Linked DNA regions of Homo sapiens: region 2 is linked to region 1. Evidence: promoter capture Hi-C in 16 types of primary human blood cells and fetal thymus (Javierre and others, 2016). All regions are on one chromosome and are shown on one strand. Each heading gives the region's core, a stretch centred on a gene start or on the middle of the fragment in contact. The rest is flanking DNA. Distances are from core to core; before and after follow the strand shown. Region 1 holds the start of SELENOK (selenoprotein K). Region 2 overlaps LOC105377094 (a long non-coding RNA gene).

Region 1 (4,470 bases), core at 1,254-3,753:
GAATAATACAATTTCTATCCTTTAGTGACCAGCTTTTCACTTGGCATGTCTTCAAAGTTCATCCATGTTGCAGTATGTGTCAAAATCTCCTTCCTGAAGGTTGAATAATATATCCTTGTATGTATATACTACATTTTGTTTACCCACTCATATCTGTTGATGGACACTTGAGTTGCTTCCACCTTCTGACTACTGTGAATAATGCTGCTATCAACATGGGTGTAAAAATACCTCTTTATTCAAGTACTTTGAAGAAACAAATGGGACGGGTGAATATAAAGGAATGCTCACACCACTTCCATATTCCTAAACATGCTGAGTATTTCTTTTCATTTGCAAAGTCTCTTGCCTGTATAAAAAGATTGCGTATTCATACTCTTACAAGTCTTTGGAATCAGTTATTTTTATAAAATTCTTATAAAGAGTGTGTATGCTCTAAGTACTAAAGAGAATTTGGCTTGTTCTTCATTAAAATAACTACTGTTTTCTATAACAGCATACTCTTAATTCTAATAGACTCTAGCTTTATCTTAAGCAAAACTGGATCTATTTTTCAAACCACTTTAATAGAAGCTACAACATAAGTTGGTACACTATATTTCAGCCTTGCAAATCAAGATGTCAGAATATTTTCGGGGAAGAGTAACTGTCAACTACCTCTCCTTTCCATTATCCCAAGAGTTAACCCCACTCACCTCTACCCACTCCATGAGGGTTTACTTTTCCTCTTTTCTTGACCAGCTTAATTTCAGATACCCACTTGGATCTAAGCTCTCACTGTGCTACTGAGAGCAAGGGGCTACAAAAGTTTAGAGGGTGGGTGACAGGCTTAGTTCTCTGCCTCTTACTAGCTCTGCTTCGTTGGCTGATGTGACATTTTCTTTCTCCAACAAAAAGTATTCCAGGGCTAGCCATCACATAAGATTTTTGGAAAAAAAAAAGTCATCTGACAGCAAGAGAAAGATTTTGTCAAGTGCTGATAATACAGTCCTAAGAAGGTGGATCTAATTGGAACCTGTCATTTCTTCCTCTGTGATTCTATCTTGCTTTTCCACTTTCCCTTTCTTAAGGCAGAATGTCCCTTCCACCAATATCCCCAGAGAGAAGTAAGGTGTTTGAATGCAGTTGTGTTTCTCAACTTTTAAAGTACGATAAAGAGTCCTAATCGGCTACTTATGTGGACCAAATGAAATAATGCGAACACAGTAAGACACAACAAATACAAGGAATTATTCAATAATTCATACAGAAGCTTCCAGCCTTAAGCTTATATCACAAAGGCTATAAAACAGGCTATAAAACAGACTAAAGTCTGAAAGCGCCCAAAACTAAGATGAAATTTTGATGCTTTTCTGTAGTGTCCATCAATCTACTTGTTTCAAAGATTTTTAAGTGGGAGATGAGAAGGGGAGATTTTTAAAAGTCAAGAAATGCAAAAGTGCAGTCAGCCAGAAGGCTCCTCACTGACTACCTTACTCGTCTCTGGAGAAAAACAGATGACTCAAATAGAACCAAGACCTAGTTCCAATGATCCACAACTCCTTGTTAAGACTGTACCAAAGAATTTCACCTGAGTCAAACAGGTGGGCAGGCAGCTCTAGCACTGATCTGACACAGTCATGTCCTTCCTTTCCGGTCATCTTCTTTGTGGGTTCGCAGAATTAAGTCTCTCGGATTCTCCATTCCGGTAATAATTAACTTGCTCCTAGGGGAAGATAGTACTTCTTCCCATGCCCCTTGAAATTCGAGCAAAAAATTCCATGTTTGACTAGCTACCCTTTCCTGGGGAAAAAGCCTATGCAAAGCTTTCATCTAATTATCATCCTAGGTCGGCTCGGTCTTTTTACACGTTGTAGACAGAGGCAGCATAACAGATAACAAGGACGCTGACGTCAGCCTACCTGTGATCGAATCCCGACTCAGCCATTAAGTTACCTCTGTGACTTAAATAGCCCAGGCAAGCTATTTAATCTATCTGAGCCTCAGAGTTTCCACCCGTAAAACAGGATTGAATGTGACGATAAGCAAATAACTGAAACACTGTCCAGGGCACAAGCGCTACGTGTACAGCGTCGGCATCATTGTCCTTACTAGTTTTAAGGATACCGACACCCGAGAGAGGAAAGACCACCCTCGCAAATCCACAATCAAGCGCTTGCTGCACGAAGGCGGGGTTGCAGGGCTCCCAGTACTCAACGTGAGGCCGGCGGGACCTCGGCCCCCGACTGCCGGCTCAGAGACCATCGGCTGACGCGCCGCAAGCCGAGGCGACTTCGGTCCAGCTCCGCCCGGCCGCGGGGCGCTAAGCCCGGGGAAGCCGCACCGGGCTCAAGACTCAGCGAGCGACGATGAAAGGAACCTGGAGTCCGATCTTACAAGTCACCGGTCGAAGCCACAGCCCGCTCTCAACTTACCGTTCGAGATGTAAACCATCTTGTCCCACTTCCCCGCTTCGGAGCCACCGGGCGCCTGGCCCCTGTCGGTTTCTGTATCTCCCTCTGCTCCCCGCCCTTCGAGCGTCACAGGCCGCGATTAGACAAAATGCTGACGAGGACGAAGGTGGGCAGAGCCCATTGGCTGCTGAAAGAGACGCGCCCCCGACGGGCGTTTTTGCATCGTCACATCTGCGACTTCTGGTTAGGCGGAGGCGGCCGAGCTGACAACCGGATATGACGTTAAGGACTGCCCTGTAGTGCCCGCGGTTGCCAGTCCTCTATCCGACTTGATCGTGCAGAGTTGGTTCGCACCGCCCAGTGAGGGGAAGCTGTTTTCTCGTCGATTGATAGGCTCCGGGTCTGGGTAGGAGAGGCTGCCCTGTATGAGGTAGCTTGAAGGGCCGCTGACAGGAGGAAACGCTTCCGAATTTTCCAGACGTGTTGACGTTTGAGGGTGCTGACTACACGTTAAGGAACTTTATTGTCACGCCTTTGGGAATATACTGCCAGGCTCTTCCTAGATATATTCATTCTCTTTAAAATGAGCATGTCTACCTGGGTTCACCAGAAACTAAGTTTTTCTTAGCCTTTTGTGAGGCAACTGAAAAATAAATTGAACTGTAGGCCCTTTCTCTGCTTGTTTCTTATTGATGGCGACTGCTTATGACCACTTTGGTGACAGACGAATTAGAAGACATGTCTTGGACATTCAGTAAATGTGGACCACATACCATGGATATTTACTCTGCTACAGCCAGTGGGCTGCCTCTGTTCCTTGAACGTGGCCATTTCATTCCCTTCTCAAGGCCTCTGCACTTAGCTATTCTTTCAGCGTGGAGACCTAATGGCTGCTTCCTTTGACTTCCCGCCCCCAGTTCTCAAGCCATGTGTCATCTCTTTGGAAAGATTCCTAATCACCTTCCAGAAAATGAAAATTACATGCTGAAAATCTATTTTGAGTTTAACAACTTTGGTTAAGATTTTATGTTCTAATACTTAGAACTGACAAAGATCTAATTTTATGTTGATTTTGGAGAGAGCATTTTCCCCAGAAAAGTTCATAATAGGACAAGACAACATCCTTCACCTCATTTGGGATTTGTGCAGCACAATCATAAAGGATCATTTCTGCAAAAATATTAGGGCAGGGCCGTTAATTTTCCCAAGGGCCTTTCTTAATCTAGACCATGCCACCATCATCTCTCACCTGCTCTACGCTAGTTTCCTTCTAAATGAAATCTCAGGTTCAGTCTTTTACCATCCTTAGGCAGTTTTACAAACTGTAGCAAGATCGATCTTAAAACGGAGATCATCTCGTTCCCTTGCCTAAAACCTTTTGGACACTAAAATTTAGTGACTTCCTATTGCTCTTAAAATCCAGTTCCTTGTCATGGCCTGCAGGCCCAAGGTGACTTGTCCTCTTGATTGCTCCTCTCACTGTACTTCCAGCCACATCTCCCCACCCAGATTATGCTCTGGCAACATTGTTGTTTTAGTTTATGAACACCCCCACCCAGATTATGCTCTGGCAACATTGTTGTTTTAGTTTGTGAACACCCCGGGTTTTACTGATACCTCCAGGACTCTGCCCATACTTGTCCCTCTACCTGGAACCCTCTTCCTCGGACTCCTTGCACATCCAGCTCATTTTATCCTTTAGCCCTCTGCTTAGTTGTCACCACTTCTGGGTGCCCTTCCCTGGCCACTCATCTCCGTGTTTATTTTCTTCATAGTAATTCACATTGTGAAACTGTCTGATAATTGATTTGTCTCTTGTCTTCAAGAAAATATAAGACGTAAGAGGTCAGGAATCCTGTCTGCCTTATTGTCTTTTATATCTTCAAGGTCTGTCATAGTTCTTGGCAAGTAGTAGGTGCTCAGATATTTGTTGGTTGGTTGAATGAGATTTTTTTAGACAATTTTTTGACAATTGCTTAAAATCTCTCCAATTGCCAAAAGAGGAAAGAAACTAACATTGGGATCTCCTGAGTATCGGACATTGTGAGGCTATCTCTTCCTTTCCATTCCTTTATCT
Region 2 (4,470 bases), core at 1,364-3,863, 530 kb before region 1:
ATTTTTCTTGCATAATAAAATTGTTGCAACTACTGTGATAAAAGAGGTTGAACTGGGTGAGGAGTGGTCCTTTTTACATTGCTCAAGAACACTAGAAGAATTAAAAATTTATGAATTACCTCCTAGAAACAATGATCTGGGACGGAAATGTAATAAAACACCCACTCTCCTGTGTCCTCCTAAGCTGCTCCATGCTGCTTCATTTTGTGACTGTATTAGTGTGACAACTTTCTGAACCTCTAGAAACTGTCTTTTGGCAAAGACGAAGATTTACAAACCAAAAGATGTCTTATTGAAAATCCAGAGGCAGATGGTGTAGAAAGGTAATGTTAAAATGTGAACCAAATAGAATCTCATTATGTATGTTCTGTATATTTGTAATTTTATTTTCTTTGCATCACTGATAAGTAGAAGAAAAAAAGTGAAATAAGAAGATATGGCATCAAAATCTCATAAAATTAAATGTCTTCCTGGGTAAAATTGCATGAGAAATACGATATGGTTATTTTTGTTTGAAATCTTCTAGTAGCATAAGCTGCCAACATTACTTCTTAAAAGAGCTACCTCTAGTTTTGAAAAGTCATTTGTTAATGTTTTTTTGACCTCTCAGATACTTCTTTGTTTTTGTTCTCTTAAGAGTATGTTAAAGCACATGTATTTGTGTAATATTTAATACTGGAAAATAGTCTAATGTAATATTTAATACTGGAAAATAGTCTAAGTGAGACTGTTTGGTGATAGATGTAACTTAGTTTTAAGGGATGTTGGGAGGAAATTGGGGCTTTTAAATTGTAAATACCTACAAATTGTGTGTTTCTTAAGTATTGGTGACTTAAATGGATGTTTTCCTATAGAAAGGTTTTTGTTTTCTTATCTAGTGACCCCTTTCCTATTATTGTTTTCCACGGATGGCCTCTCATTCTTCAATAATGAAACACAGGAGAACGTACACAATTTCAAACTTTCCATTTATCTGTTTTTGAGCTAGATTGATGTCTAGTTTAGCAAAGGTAATGCAAGTACGATTGCTCAGGTGAAACATTACCATATCGGCATTTTCTGCTTGCTACAAATTCCTGCATTTAAAGTAATTTACTGAAAACTAAGCTTGGGAGGAAAAAATGCCCAACCACAGTTTATACTAATAGAATATATGTGAATAGGATTTCTAACTTTTTAGTCAGTGAATCCCTGAGTATTGACATACATCATCTATAGAAAGCAGCCAACAGATCTGTTGAAAGGCACACGAAGGAAACAGTGCCTTGTAGCTTGTAATTGTTAGAAATACGTCAGCTGCATCAAACTGACAGGTAATCTTAATTTTTTTTTTTTTTTTTGAGACGAAGTCTTGCTCTGTCTCCCAGGCTGGAGTGCAGTGGTACGATCTCAGCTTACTGAAACCTCCACCTCCCGGGTTCAAGCGATTCTCTTGCCTTAGCCTCCAGAGTAGCTGGGACTGCAGGTGTGCACTACCACGCCCAGCTAATTTTTGTATTTTTAGTAGAGACGGGGTTTTACCATGTTGGCCAGGATGTTCTTGATCTCTTGACCTTGTGATCCACCCTCCTCGGCCTCCCAAAGTGCTGGGATTACAGGGGTGAGCCACTGTACCTGGCCAAACTGACGGGTAATCTTAATGTCATATTTTGCTGTGCCTTCTCAGAATGAGCAAGGAGTCTTTTCTTCCCCTAAAAGAAATCAACTGATTTTTAATTAATTCATTAATTAATTTATTTTTATGTAATCCTCTTCCAGGTAAGCAACTGATTTTGAAAGTTACAATAGTATAGATCTTTTCTGATGTGGGTCAAATGATCTTTTTAAAAGGTATCCATAAAGGGTATCACTGACCATAAAAAAAGAGCAGTCTTTGGATTTTGTCCTTTCAGACCAGAGACTGGTCATGCAAAATAGGTTTCAGAGGCAAAACCAATGAGTTTACATTATTCTTAAGTCTGGTGGAGGGTCAACATGTTAACATTGTGAAACAAAAGAGGACTGACCTTTTCTAAAAATATGAGTTAGGCCCTGTCTTAGTCCATCTGAGTTGCTGTAACAAAATACCTTAGACTATTATAAAGAACATAAATGAATAGTTCACAGTTCTGAAGGCTGGCACCAGGATCATGGTGACAGTAGAGTCAGTGTCTGGTGAGGGCTCTCTGCTTTACAGATAGCACCTTCTTGCCGCATCCTCACATAACAGAAAGGCAAACAGGCTCCCCCAAGTCTCTTTTATTTTACTTATTCATTTATTTTTTCTGAGATGGAATTTCTCTCTTGTCGCTCAGGCTGGAATACAATGGCACTATCTCAGCTCACTGCAACCTCCACCTCCCGGGTTCAAGCAATTCTCCTGCCTCAGCCTCCTGAATAGATGGGATTACAGGCACCCACCACAACACCCAGCTAATTTTTGTATTTTTAGTAGAGATGGGGTTTCACTGTGTTGGCCAGGCTGGTCTCAAACTCCTGACCTCAGGTGATCCACCAGCCTCGGCCTCCCGAAGTGTTGGGATTACAGGCATGAGCCACCGCGCCCGGCCCAAGTATCTTTTAGAAGGGCATTAATCCCATTCATCAAGGTGGAACCCTCATGACCTAATCACCTCCCAGATGTCCACCCTCCCAACACCACTGCACTAGGGATTAAGTTTCAACATATGAATTTGGTGGGGACACAAATCTGCAGGCCATAGCAGGCCCACATCCATTAGACTTACTCACTTTATAGGACTGAGTGAGCAAAGCGAACTGCTGACTGTGTGACCTCAAGATGTGGCCATGGTGACTGGCTCTTCATCACTTCTGCTTTGCGGTCACCTGTCCTCTAAGATGCAGATAAGGAGAAAATGAAATGTTAAAAGCTAAGGGAGAAAACACAGACTTGGCTTCCCTATCAACTTCTACTCAATTTTTAAATCTTGTTTTATTTATTTATTTATTTATTTATTTTTAAAGACAGGGTCTCGCTCTGTCACTTAGGCTGGAGTGCAGTGGTGTGATCATGGTTCACTGCAGCCTCAACCTCCTGGGCTCCAGTGATCCTCTCACCCCAGCCTCCCAAGTAGCTGGGACCACAGGCATGCATCACCATGCCTGGCTTATTTTTTAACTTTTGTTGTAGAGTCGGGGGTCTCACTCTGTTGCCCGGGCTGGTCTCAAACTCCTGGCCTCAAGTGATCCTCCCGCCTTGGCCTCCCAAAGTGATTACAGGCATGAGACACCACTGCCCTGACTGAATCAGTTTTATTTAAAGCCATCACCATCAGATATTTGTATGGTGTGCTAAAATACTTTTTTTTTTTTTTTTTGAGACCAGGTCTCGCTCTGTTGCCCAGGCTGGAGTACAGTGGCGCGATCTCAGCTCACTGCAGCCTCTGCCTTCCTGGTTCAAGCAATTCTCCCACCTTGGCTGGGATTACAGGAGCACGCCACCATGCCCAGCTAATTTTTACATTTTTAGTAGAGTTGGGGTTTCACCATGTTGGCCAGGCTGGTCTCGAACTCCCGACCTTAGGTGATCCATCTGCCTTGGCCTCCCAAAGTGCTGGGATTACAGGTATGAGCCACCATCCCTGGCCAATATTTTTAACTTTAAACCAAAAACATAGTCAATATGCTTTTGAGGACTCAGTAGTGTTTCTTCCAATAAACATTTATGCATTTCAATTTTTGATCACATCCATGGTAGATTTATTAGAAATTATTGTGATTCTTTGGAAAAGCATTTATAGAAGTATGGAAGTATGGAAGTGTAGAAGTATAAAGAGGCCAAAGTTTACATGATGAACACATTAGGTAGTTCAATTTTGAATAGACAAAACAATCTTGGGCCTACAGTTCCAGGATAATAATACTGATAAACTATATCAGAGCTCTGCCACAATGAACAAAGCACCATGCTTTTGGTACTTTGATCTTCAATATATTCCCTGCTATATTAACCCATTATGTAGAATGTCCATATATATTATCTCCTTTAACTCAATCCGGGACAGGGCAAGTATGATTACCCTTGTTTTATTTAGGGAAAAATGGGCAGTTCGATATATGAAATGACAGAGCCTGTGTGCAGAGGTGGACCCAGCATTTACCACCACAGCATTCATCCCACAAGCTTGTTCTTCCTCACGACTCATCTGGGATCTTAACCCTTTGGCTTCCAAGAAATCACTTAGCAAAACCCATAAACAAATGCTAATGGACTCATGGTGGTCTAGAGGGCCATTGCCAGGTATTATGTATTTTACCTGATCTATCCTACTACTGGCTTTTATAGTGGATGTTTCACCAAAGCATGAAAGATAGTTTTTTGCTAGCAAAATAATAAAACTGAGCTGTGAAACAAGAAAGGAGAAATCCATAAAAATTCTAGTGTCCATAAAATTTTATTAGATAGCATAAGAACTCTGGGAACTATTTTTGAAAGATCCTTGTGATTGACCTAACTCTTAATTTTGTGAC

Evidence for each region. Contacts are between HindIII fragments. The CHiCAGO score rates a contact against its expected background, and 5 or more counts as called.
Region 2: a fragment that was not itself captured here is called in contact with the fragment with the promoter of SELENOK in region 1 in 5 of 17 cell types (M1 macrophages, erythroblasts, M0 macrophages and 2 more); the score reaches 8.8 in M1 macrophages.

Annotation. Positions count from the first base shown.
Region 1 is chr3:53,889,356-53,893,825 of GRCh38, forward strand. It overlaps SELENOK (selenoprotein K), which reads right to left and starts at 2,504. Exons shown (of 5, transcript NM_021237.5): 1 at 2,415-2,504. The coding sequence starts at 2,433. RefSeq lists enhancers at 1,692-2,592, 2,483-2,782. The HindIII fragment of the contact is 7,183 bases long and covers 1,804-4,470 here.
Region 2 is chr3:53,359,275-53,363,744 of GRCh38, forward strand. LOC105377094 (a long non-coding RNA gene) reads right to left here. Exons shown (of 3, transcript XR_940847.3): 2 at 2,731-2,833. Among named protein-coding and RNA genes, the nearest start is that of DCP1A, 14 kb to the left of the region's middle. The HindIII fragment of the contact is 3,016 bases long and covers 1,106-4,121 here.